Linked DNA regions of Homo sapiens: regions 1 and 3 are each linked to region 2. The links are contacts of gene promoters, found by promoter capture Hi-C in blood cells and fetal thymus (Javierre and others, 2016). All regions are on one chromosome and are shown on one strand. The core of a region is centred on a gene start or on the middle of the fragment in contact, and the rest is flanking DNA. Distances in the headings are between cores, read along the strand shown. Region 1 has its middle 310 kb from the start of RPRM. Region 2 holds the start of RPRM (reprimo, TP53 dependent G2 arrest mediator homolog). Region 3 has its middle 330 kb from the start of RPRM.

The links. The method cuts DNA at HindIII sites, captures the fragments that hold promoters and counts their contacts. A CHiCAGO score of 5 or more calls a contact.
Region 1: a contact is called between a fragment that was not itself captured here and the fragment with the promoter of RPRM in region 2, in 1 of 17 cell types (naive CD8 T cells). The highest score is 5.7, in naive CD8 T cells.
Region 3: a contact is called between a fragment that was not itself captured here and the fragment with the promoter of RPRM in region 2, in 1 of 17 cell types (naive CD8 T cells). The highest score is 6.6, in naive CD8 T cells.

Annotation. Positions count from the first base shown.
Region 1 is chr2:153,169,611-153,172,877 of GRCh38, forward strand. It overlaps a transcript of GALNT13 not described here. Among named protein-coding and RNA genes, the nearest start is that of RPRM, 310 kb to the right of the region's middle. The HindIII fragment of the contact is 3,000 bases long and covers 351-3,267 here.
Region 2 is chr2:153,476,674-153,480,301 of GRCh38, forward strand. It overlaps RPRM (reprimo, TP53 dependent G2 arrest mediator homolog), which reads right to left and starts at 2,089. Exons shown (of 1, transcript NM_019845.3): 1 at 665-2,089. The coding sequence starts at 1,892. The coding sequence ends at 1,563. It also overlaps a transcript of GALNT13 not described here. RefSeq lists enhancers at 256-759, 760-1,263, 1,264-1,767 and a silencer at 2,124-2,323. The HindIII fragment of the contact is 6,762 bases long and covers 1-3,628 here.
Region 3 is chr2:153,149,754-153,153,155 of GRCh38, forward strand. It overlaps a transcript of GALNT13 not described here. Among named protein-coding and RNA genes, the nearest start is that of RPRM, 330 kb to the right of the region's middle. The HindIII fragment of the contact is 5,651 bases long and covers 1-3,402 here.

The DNA of each region.
Region 1 (3,267 bases), core at 601-3,100, 310 kb before region 2:
ACACTGAGAAACTCAGAAGGAACCACCAGCCTGACTGTCCCTGGTAAGAGCTTGGCTATGGCTGAACTCCCAAGAGGAAGACACTATACCTGGCAGCTTGGGTGAGGCTGAGACAGACACATAGAGTTGAAACCTGCAGTGCATTATTTTCTTTGTCTTTTCAAAGCAGAGCCATTTTATATTTAAAGGGGTCAAAAGTACAACCCCTACTGTTGTTAGCTCCCAGCTGTTTGCTGACATGTGTGGAAATGAAAATTTGGGAGGGGCTGGTCCTTGACCTCATTAGCATGTGTGGTTTTACTTTTTTGTACCTAGAAAAGAATTTATGTAACTGCCCTTATCCAAAATTAAGCTTGGGAATATGTTTGTTTAAAACCAACTAATCTTCATGTTTAAGTAAAGCCAATTTAATTAGTAAGTATGAGTAATTACAACTATTATCTAATTTATAAAATCCCATTAAATTTACTTTGAAGATTTAATGAAAATTACGGTTACAGTCTTAAATCTTAAGAATATGTTTTTGTAGACTATATGATCATAGCAAGGTCAAATTAGAATCTTTTTAGCAAACAATAGAGGTAACAAAATAAACCTAATACGTTCCTTAAATATTTTCATCTCATATTTTTCTACACATGAAGATGTTTATTTGGTTGATATAATAATATATCAGAGAAAGATTCTTTTAAGCTAATTGTTTTTTTTAATAACAAATTTTATCCAAAGAAAGCCACATCTTGTTAAGATTTAAGCAATTTTGTTTATTAGGGAAATGAGGAAGATTCAACCTCAGACTTGAGGGATTTTATCTTTCTTTGAACCTAAAGTAATTATAAGAAGAAATGTATATATGGATATGTAAACATGTGTTATAGCCAAAGTCTGGAACAGGTGATTTCTGACAATAGATAGCAAAATTTATAATTAACTTAAGCAGCTGGCTAAGCACCGAAGTGTCACACAGAAGAAAAAATAGTGTCTCATTGCAAGCCAAATATCACTGCTAGTAGCCAAATGATGCATTGTATGGCTAAACACAGGCTTTCTGACTTCCAAATACATGTTGGTCATTAGCCAACTGAAACAAATGAAGTTAACATTATCTAACAAATGTTACCTTATTTGAAATTCAGACTATAGCCCATAATGTTTTGATGACAGACTGATTTTAAGTCAGTGAGGAAGTTGCTTTTGAAATACATTTCTCATTTGCATCTCCATGTATATGATTTTCTGACTAGTTATTCTGATTCATCCATTTGTCTAATATAGCAGTTATTTAGCTTTTGATTAACAAAGTAAGGTTCTGAATAGATAAAATAATTATGAAAGCTAGACTTTATCAAGAGATGAAATTATTTTTTAAAATTCCATCAGCATTTTAGTGTACACTTTTGTTTGTCTACTCAGTAACAGTAACTTTTCCTTCTTTTTTCTAACAAAACTCTGATTCAATTCGGTTACCCCACTGGTAGTGCACCTTAAGGGAGATATACTCCTGTATCAGCCTGGGGCTGAATCATGAGTGGTCTAAGCCAATTATGGTCGTCTCGTTGCCTTTGCCAAAAACCAGTTTATGTATAGGCACGTGATGCACATCTGAGAAGTGAGAAGCTGTAAATGCTTCTGATCAAGGCTTTCCTTGCTATAAAAAGTTACTGGAATATTGTTTTGGCAACTAATTGAGTGCATGAATTGAGTAAATGGTTACATCATTAGATAGTGAGCATTAGTTTTAAAAAGCATGTGACATAAAATTATTACAGAGGAAGCACTATATTAAACTAATTAACATTAAATAATTATTATTTAGAAATGCAAAAACAACTCCACCAATATCAAGGTACTCACTAGAATGGCTAACAAAAAAAAAGTGACAAGTGTTGACAAGAATGTGGGACAACAGTAACTCTTATATGTTGGTGAATTTCTAATGAAATATATTATACTTCATTAGAGAAGTTTACCAACAATCCTTCCCAAACCTGAAGAGGAAAAAGCTGTTATTTTCTTTTGCTAGATATTATTGTGTCTGCCTGTGACACCTAGAATCTGGCTGTAACCTGGCTAAGGATGGCAAGGCAGAAAGAAGTAAGAAAACTGTGTTTTATGACACAGCTGAGCACTAAATATAAAAACCTAAAATGGCCTTATCTTGGGAATAACCATATCAGATAATGCTGTTTCTGTACTATTTAAGCCAAATTGAGTTATTTTCTGTTAATTATAGCTGAAACTATTTCAGCTGATAATTGTCTATTAACATTAAAAGCCAGGACTGACCATGTAGATTACTTTCTTCCATAACACAGAAAAGATAGCCCTTCCATCATTAATAGGAGGAGACATGGTAATCATTTGCACAGGTAGAAGAAGGTTATAACATGATGGGGTTCATGTTGAAAGGAGTGGGGAGCATACCATTCTAGTGCAGGACATTTGGGAAGAAAGAGGCAGAGATGAGAAGTGAACCACTTCGGATTGACTGAAGTCCTAGAGGAGAGACAAAGACATATGGATGGGAATATAAAGCAGCACATCTCTTGTACCAATCTATATTTGATATCCTAGCCTAGTATTTTATTGTAAAGAGTCCTATATCTACCTGTGGGAGACTGTATTAGTGTTAGAGGGATGGTGCATGCATAGAGGGAGCCTTGGTGTAGCTCCTGTAAGCCACCTTCGTTTTTCATACAGTGGAGATAGAAATGCCAAATCCCAGGCTTCTCTTGAAGTAGAGAGATAGAATGTTAGCTGGGAGTTAGGGTGGGGAGCTTGCCAGAAAACATAGTGATTGCAGGGATGAAGAGACTCTGTATTAAAGGACTTTTGGACAGACTACTTAGGATTCACTGCCAACCCTAAGGGGATTTAAAGCACCACTGAGAGCTGAGGTGGGTCCAGGCCAGTAGACAATACCACTAGGCCCTGACCAAGGTGGAGGAGAACAGGTCATGAGCTAGGGCTCTTGGGCAGGTACCAACAATGCCCTGCCATCCTTAGCCAGTTGATAGCCAGCAGGGTCACTAGTACCTGGGCAAACAAAGAAATGTTTTTCATTAAGGGCTAGAAGAGTGGCACAAAATCACGTGGTACAAATAGGAGACTTTTTCTTCCCATGCCAACAAAGGATCCAGCAAATGACCTTACAGATTCAGATAATACCTTGGTAAGATGAAAGAGAGGGTAAGGTAATCTGAAAAACTGAAAAAGACTGAACATCCCTAAGAGATGATCTAAAACAAACATTATTCATTTTCTTTG
Region 2 (3,628 bases), core at 839-3,338:
CTGGTCTGGGGCATACTAAATTACAAAGAACAGGCTGAATCTTTTAACGTGGTCTTTTTGCTAGAAAAAGTAATATCACAACGACAGTAATGCATCTCATGTTTTAGTAACAATGGTTTACCCTAGGGAGCATTAACGTCACTAACGTCACTGTGTACCTTAGCAGCTACTTTTCCTCGCATTTTATAATTCCCCTTCCCTCCGCCCCCCGGCCCCACCCGTGGGCAGCATCCCAAAGCCGCCTGGCTGACGTTGGTTAGGGTAGAGACGCCCTCCCTAAAGGCTGTCCAAGCCGTCTCTTCCTTTCATTAGCGGTGTAATCCTGTGTTCCCGCCGGAGCCTGGCACGGAAGTGTAATCTTCCCGCGGGGGCCCTTCTGTCGTCTCGCCTACCTGAGAGCTGAGACTAAATGAAATATAAAATATTCACGATAAGAGGAAACAAAGGATGCTGCCTCCAGGACGGCTACTGTGCCTGAGGCTGGGCTCCTTCTCAGTCATCCCAGGGCCTCTCCGTCTGGCCCCACCCTCGCCCCTCCAGGGGATCCACAAGTTGAATCGCAGCTCTCCAGGGTTAATTGCCCTGGCCGGGAGCCAGACTCCTCACCGCCGCCCCGTTCCCCCCTGCTGGGGAGCGCAGAATGACCACCAGGAGGCCAGGAACAAAACGCTTAAATGTTGCATTTATTAAGGAAATGTTAAATAAGAAAAAAACAAAAAGTCAAAACGGTGTCACGGATGTCAAGAGCACTTTTGTGGCGTAAACCGTGCAGTCACGAGCTACGAGTTCTATTCTGGGTCTTTGTCCCAGGGCCAGCAGGAACGCTAGACGCCTCCCAAAAGACCCAGTGGGAAATGCACTAAAAGAAACAACTCACCCCGTTCAAATTCGCAGGCTCCCCCTCCCCCCACCCCTTCTCCCACAATGACAAAACTGTAACTCCTCAGGCAGGCAAACAGGCCACTGGGGCAGAAAAAGACTTATCAAACATTTGTATTCAAGCAAACAAACACAAAACCTCTTAAAACGGCACGTTACAATCAAAGGTATTTATCGCCCCTCCCCTCCAGGGCAGGGGGGGAGCAGGAGAAGAGTGGGAGCGCACCCGGACACGGATTTGTGAGACCCCATGAGTCTGCTGCGTGGCTTTTAACAGGTCACTCTTCCGGTCACAAGGCGATCAGTGCCGCTGGGTCTCTCCCCTGCCCGCCCTCTCCACCTGCCCCCAGAGCTTGGCCCACCTGCGGGTGGAGAAGGGCCTTCGCACCGTCGGTCTCCCCGCATTCCAAGTAAGTAGCAGCTTCCAAAGTTCTGCGCCCTAATCGCCCTCTTCTTGCCACTTTCTGCTGAGTTCAGAGTCTGGGCGCTCTCCTCCGACTGCCAGGCATGAGGACTTTCAGAGGGCGAGGGAGAAACCGGTCGCTTCTTTCCGAAAGGCCGAAGTCGAGAGAAATAATTGACTCCGACAGGTTTGCTTCGCCCAGTCTCTGATAGTGAGGGGCACAGCCGGGCTAGCAAAGTGGGCAGGCGTGGGAGCGGTTGCCGCGGGGGCAGAGGGCGGGTCAGTAGGGCCCCACGACCACCGCCTCCACCTCCTTAGACGGCCTCCGGTCCTTCACGAGGAAGTTGATCATGCCCTCGGACTTGATGAGCAGATTGCAGCCGAGGAAGAAGATGCCGAAGACCACGGTGAGTGAGAGCACGCACATGACCGCGATCTGCACCACGCGCATTATGTACAGGCTACGCTCGTCCGGGCCTCCCTCCGCGAAGCCGTCGTCGGTCACCACGGACGCCTGGGTGCAGCAGCGCACGGCTCGCTCCAGCGCCTCGCTGCTGTTGGCCAGGAACAGGCCCGCCACGTCCGTCTGGTTGCCTAGGGCCGGATTCATCGCAGGAACGGGCGGGCGCCGCGAGCGGCGCGGGTCCGAGGGGTGGGAAGGCGGCGGCGCTGGAGGAACAGGTGCCGGGCTGAGCGCTCACTCGCAGACTAGCGCGTGCGAGGGCTCCTCGCTCTGCTTTCGAAAGTCCCTGGGCCGTGGGAGTTTCCCAGGAGCCTCTCCGACGCGCGCAGCAGCTAGGCTCTTCTAAAGCCGTCCGCTCCAGCCCTGGTGGTGCTCGTTCCCGGCGCTCGCTCGAGGGGGGGCTGTTGGAACTTGGCGGGGCTGGACCAGCCCGGCCGTGGGAGGTGCGGGCCGCGGCGGCTGCAGCGGCGGGGTGGCTGCGCTGAGCAAACAGCGGCCCCTTCCGGCCGCACCGCCGCGCTGCGCGCTGCTCTTGGGAGGTGGAGGAAGCAAAGGGGCGAACCTGGTCTTGCTTTTTATTGCTTGCTTCTTTTGCAAACTCCAAAGGCCAGGCAGAGGTCACTGTACTCTTCTAGCTTGATGGATGATTAAAGAGTTTGTCGGGGGAGGGTGCGGTCAGCTGAAAGTTTCAGAGGAACTGGGACACACGAGCTCTGCGTGTCCTTTGCCTGCTGCCCCCCTGACCTCTGGGCGAATGGAAAGTGGCGATGAATCGCAGGTGCCAGATGGTGCCGGCTGAGGCCACCCGCCCACTGCCTGTGCTTGACTCCGACTCGCCTGCGTTGGATTTCTAGTGGAGTGGAGGTGATCTGAGAATGTTTCTTACAAAGCAATGAATTTGGAAAGACAGAAAGGCATGGAAGAAGGAAGGAAGAAAGGAAGGAAGGAAAGAAAAAAGGAAGGGAGGGAGAAAGAAGAGCTCTACACCCAGCTTCCTTTACAAAAGCGATTGGGAGACAGAGCAAGGCAGGTTTTACCGTGAGGTTTGAGGCCAAGGAAAGAGGGTTAGAGGAAGGAGGAGTTCTTCTGTGGCCCTTGGGTGGAGGTAGTTGCCGGGAGCAGGGTCACCTCTCTGGTAAAGGAGGTGAACAGAGTGACCACTTGCTTGTAATTTTAATTGCAGATAAGTTTTTGGATGTGCTTCCAGCATTTTGTCCGTTGGCAGTAAATCAGTTGTTGAAGGGAATTGCTCATCAACATCCATCACCTAGAACGCTGGCCAAATACTGGGAGCCCTCCCCATTTTCCATAAGCTGATGTATTTCACCCTTAGTCATTTAAACTAAACACAGATGTTTTTATAGGCCTGATTGACGCTTCAGCCATTGTGATTTTGCTCTAGGTTCCAACGAAATTCTATAAACCTGTCAGATTAAGTTTCTTAACTCTGAAAGAATATTGCATGTTCCCGCTCCCCCTTTTCTGTTTTCTTTCCCCTCCCTCCTTTTCCCCATTACTCCCTGCCTTCCTCCCTCTTTCTTTCAGCTGTAACAGCTGGAAACCAGTAACTTGAGCTTCCAATAGAATACATTTACTTTCTATTAAATGTTCTCACCACAAAGAACTGATAAAAATTTGAGATAATGGGTACGCTAATTACTCTGATTTGATCATTCCACATGTATATGTGTATCAAAATATCACTTTGTACCTCATAAATATGTACAGTTGTCAATTAAAAATAAAATAAAACTGAAAAATAGTAGCTGTCTTGCCATTTTCAACTCTACTCTTAATTTCATTCTGTTTGCTTGGTAAATCCTCTTATTTCTGTTTCTTAAAACATCATTTATTCCATCTTCAGAGTGTTCCTTAAATGTTTT
Region 3 (3,402 bases), core at 801-3,300, 330 kb before region 2:
TTATATCCTTTAAATTTTAGCTGTTAATACGGTATATCTCATGTTTTGTTTTCATACACAAAGAGTTGGTAGATAATAAAATAATTAAATTGTACCTGAAGAAAACATTCTCTCTAGCAGTGTCATCTAAAATAAGAGGAACATTTATTTTAAAATTAAGAATGGCAGGGGTTTTTTTTGCCTGAAAATAATGTCTTTGAGGCTATAGACAACTTTCAGTGGTTCAGGGGCCTGCCTGCTCATCTAATTTATGAAGGATTCATGGAGTAATATCTCCTCTGTCTCTGTGTCATCCATGATCTCTTGTCGGCTTCACTCTAATCAGCATGTCTATGGAAGAAAAACCAAACTGTATTGAATTAGTTCTCTTTTTCTTCAAATAACTTGAAAGGAAAGTCCTGATGTACTATATTATTTGACTTATATGATTCAACACCTTTGATGTCAGGGATAGGCTTAATGGAAGAAGAAATTTATGATACATTAGTTCCATTAAAATGCACCTATAAATGTCCTCTTTTGAGAAGTGTCTGTTCATATCCTTCACCCACTTTTTGATGGGGTTGTTTGTTTTTTTTCTTGTAAATTTGTTGGAGTTCATTGTAGATTCTGGGTATTAGCCCTTTGTCAGTTGAGTAGATTGCAACAATTTTCTCCCATTCTGTAGGTTGCCTGTTCACTCTGATGGTAGTTTCTTTTGCTGTGCAGAAGCTCTTTAGTTTAATTAGATCCCATTTGTCAATTTTGGCTTTTGTTGCCATTGCTTTGGTGTTTTAGACATGAAGTCCTTGCCCATGCCTGTGTCCTGAATGGCATTGCCTAGGTTTTCTTCTAGGGTTTTTATGGTTTTAGGTCTAATGTTTAAGTCTTTAATCCATCCTGAATTAATTTTTGTATAATGTGTAAGGAAGGGATCCAGTTTCAGCTTTCTACATATGGCTAGCCAGTTTTCCCAGCACCATTTATTAAATAGGGAATTGCTTCCCCATTTCTTGTTTTTGTCAGGTTTGTCAAAGATCAGATGGTTGTAGATATGCGGCATTATTTCTGAGGGCTCTGTTCTGTTCCATTGGTTTATATCTCTGTTTTGGTATCAGTACCATGCTATTTTAGTTACTGTAGCCTTGTAGTGTAGTTTGAAGTCAGGTAGCATGATGCCTCCAGCTTTGTTCTTTTGGCTTAGGATTGACTTGGCAATGCGGGCTCTTTTTTGGTTCCATATGAACTTTAGTTTTTTCCAATTCTGTGAAGAAAGTCATTGGTAGCTTGATGGGGATGGCATTGAATCTCTAAATTACCTTGGGCAGTATGGCCATTTTCATGATATTGATTCTTCCTACCCAAGAGCATGGAATGTTCTTCCATTTGTTTGTATCCCCTTTTATTTCCTTGAGCAGTGGTTTGTAGTTCTCCTTGAGGAGGTCCTTCATGTCCCTTGTAAGTTGGATTTTTTGCAGCCAAAAGACACATGAAAAAATGCTAATCATCACTGGCCATCAGAGAAATGCAAATCAAAACCACAATGAGATACCATCTTACACCAGTTAGAATGGCAATCATTGAAAATCAGGAAACAACAGGTGCTGGAGAGGATGTGGAGAAATAGGAACACTTTTACACTGTTGGTGGGACTGTAAACTAGTTCAGCCATTGTGGAAGTCAGTGTGGCGATTCCTCAGGGATCTAGAACTAGACATACCATTTGACCCAGCAATCCCATTACTGGGTATATACCCAAAGGATTATAAATCATGCTGCTATAAAGACACATGCACATGTATGTTTATTAGAGCACTATTCACAATAGCAAAGACTTGGAATCAACCCAAATGTCCAACAATGATAGACTGGATTAAGAAAATGTGGCACATATACACCATGAAATACTATGCAGCCATAAGAAATGATGAGTTCATGTCCTCTGTAGGGATGTGGATGAAGCTGGAAACCATCATTCTCAGCAAACTATCGCAAGGACAAAAAACCAAACACCACATGTTCTCACTCATAGGTGGGAATTGAAAAATGAGAACACATAGACACAGGAAGGGGAACATCACACACTGGGGCCTGTTGTGGGGTGGGGGGAGGTGGGAGGGATAACATTTGGAGATACACCTAATGTTAAATGACGAGTTACTGGGTGCAGCACACCAACATGGCACATGTATACATATGTAACTAACCTGCACATTGTGCACATGTACCCTAAAACTTAAAGTATAATAATAATAAAAAATTTACCTATAAAATGTTGGCCAACTCTGGTAGTCTGAATGGAGCGGGTCTAGCTTATTTCTATTCAGGAGATCAAATCTGCTTTCTGGGGAGAGCTAGTACTAAACCCTGATATTTGACACCTTGCCCTTTGCTACATATTCTGAAGTCTGTAACATGGAGCTCTCCATTATTTTCCTTATTAGAAATGACTTTTGATATCCCTGTAATTGGACCATTATCCTCTTGATTAAAAATGCTGATTTAGCAAATCTCATGAAGGAAAACAACTTTGTCCCAGGGAAATATCATAAATGGGAGATGGCCGTGGTAGTGGTAGTGCACTTGGATATGGCCAGGTAAAATATTGAACTCAACTGATAATATCAGGGTTCTTTTGGGAAATCTTAATTAAGGAAGATCTTTATTCCACACACTTTCTTTTTTTTTCATTTCTTTCTTTTTAAGTTCAGGGTACATGTGTAGATTTGTGACATAGGTAAACTTGTATCATGGGTGTTTGTTGTACAGATTATTTCATTGCTGAGGTGATAAACCTAGTACCCATTAGTATCCTGATCCTCTCTCTTTTCCCATCCTCCACCCTCCAAAAGGTCCTAGTGTGTGCCTCTATGTGTCCATGTGTTCTCATCATTTAGCTCTCCCTGATAAGTGAGGACATGTAGTATTAGGTTTTCTGTTCCTTTGTTAGTTTGCTAAGGATAATGGCCTCCAGCTCCGTCCATGTTCCTGCAAAGGATATGATCTCCTTCCTTTTTATGGCTGCATAGTATTCCTTGGTGTATATGTACCACATTTTCTTTATCCAGTCTATCACTGATGGACATTTAGGTTGATACCCTGTCTTTGCTATTGTGAATAGAGCTGCAATGAACATACACGTGCATGTGTCTTTATAATAAAAAGATTTATATTCCTTTAGGTATATACCCAGTAATGGGATTGCTGAGTCAAATGGCATTTCTATCTTCAGGTTTTTGAGGAATCACCACACTGCCTTCCACAATGGTTGAACTAATTTACACTCCTACCAACGGTGTATAAGAGTTCATTTTTCTCTATAACCTTGCTAGCATCTGTTGTTGACTTTCTTATAATAGCCATTCAGACTGGTATGAGATGATATCTCATTGTGGTTTTGATTTGCATTTCTCTAATGATCAG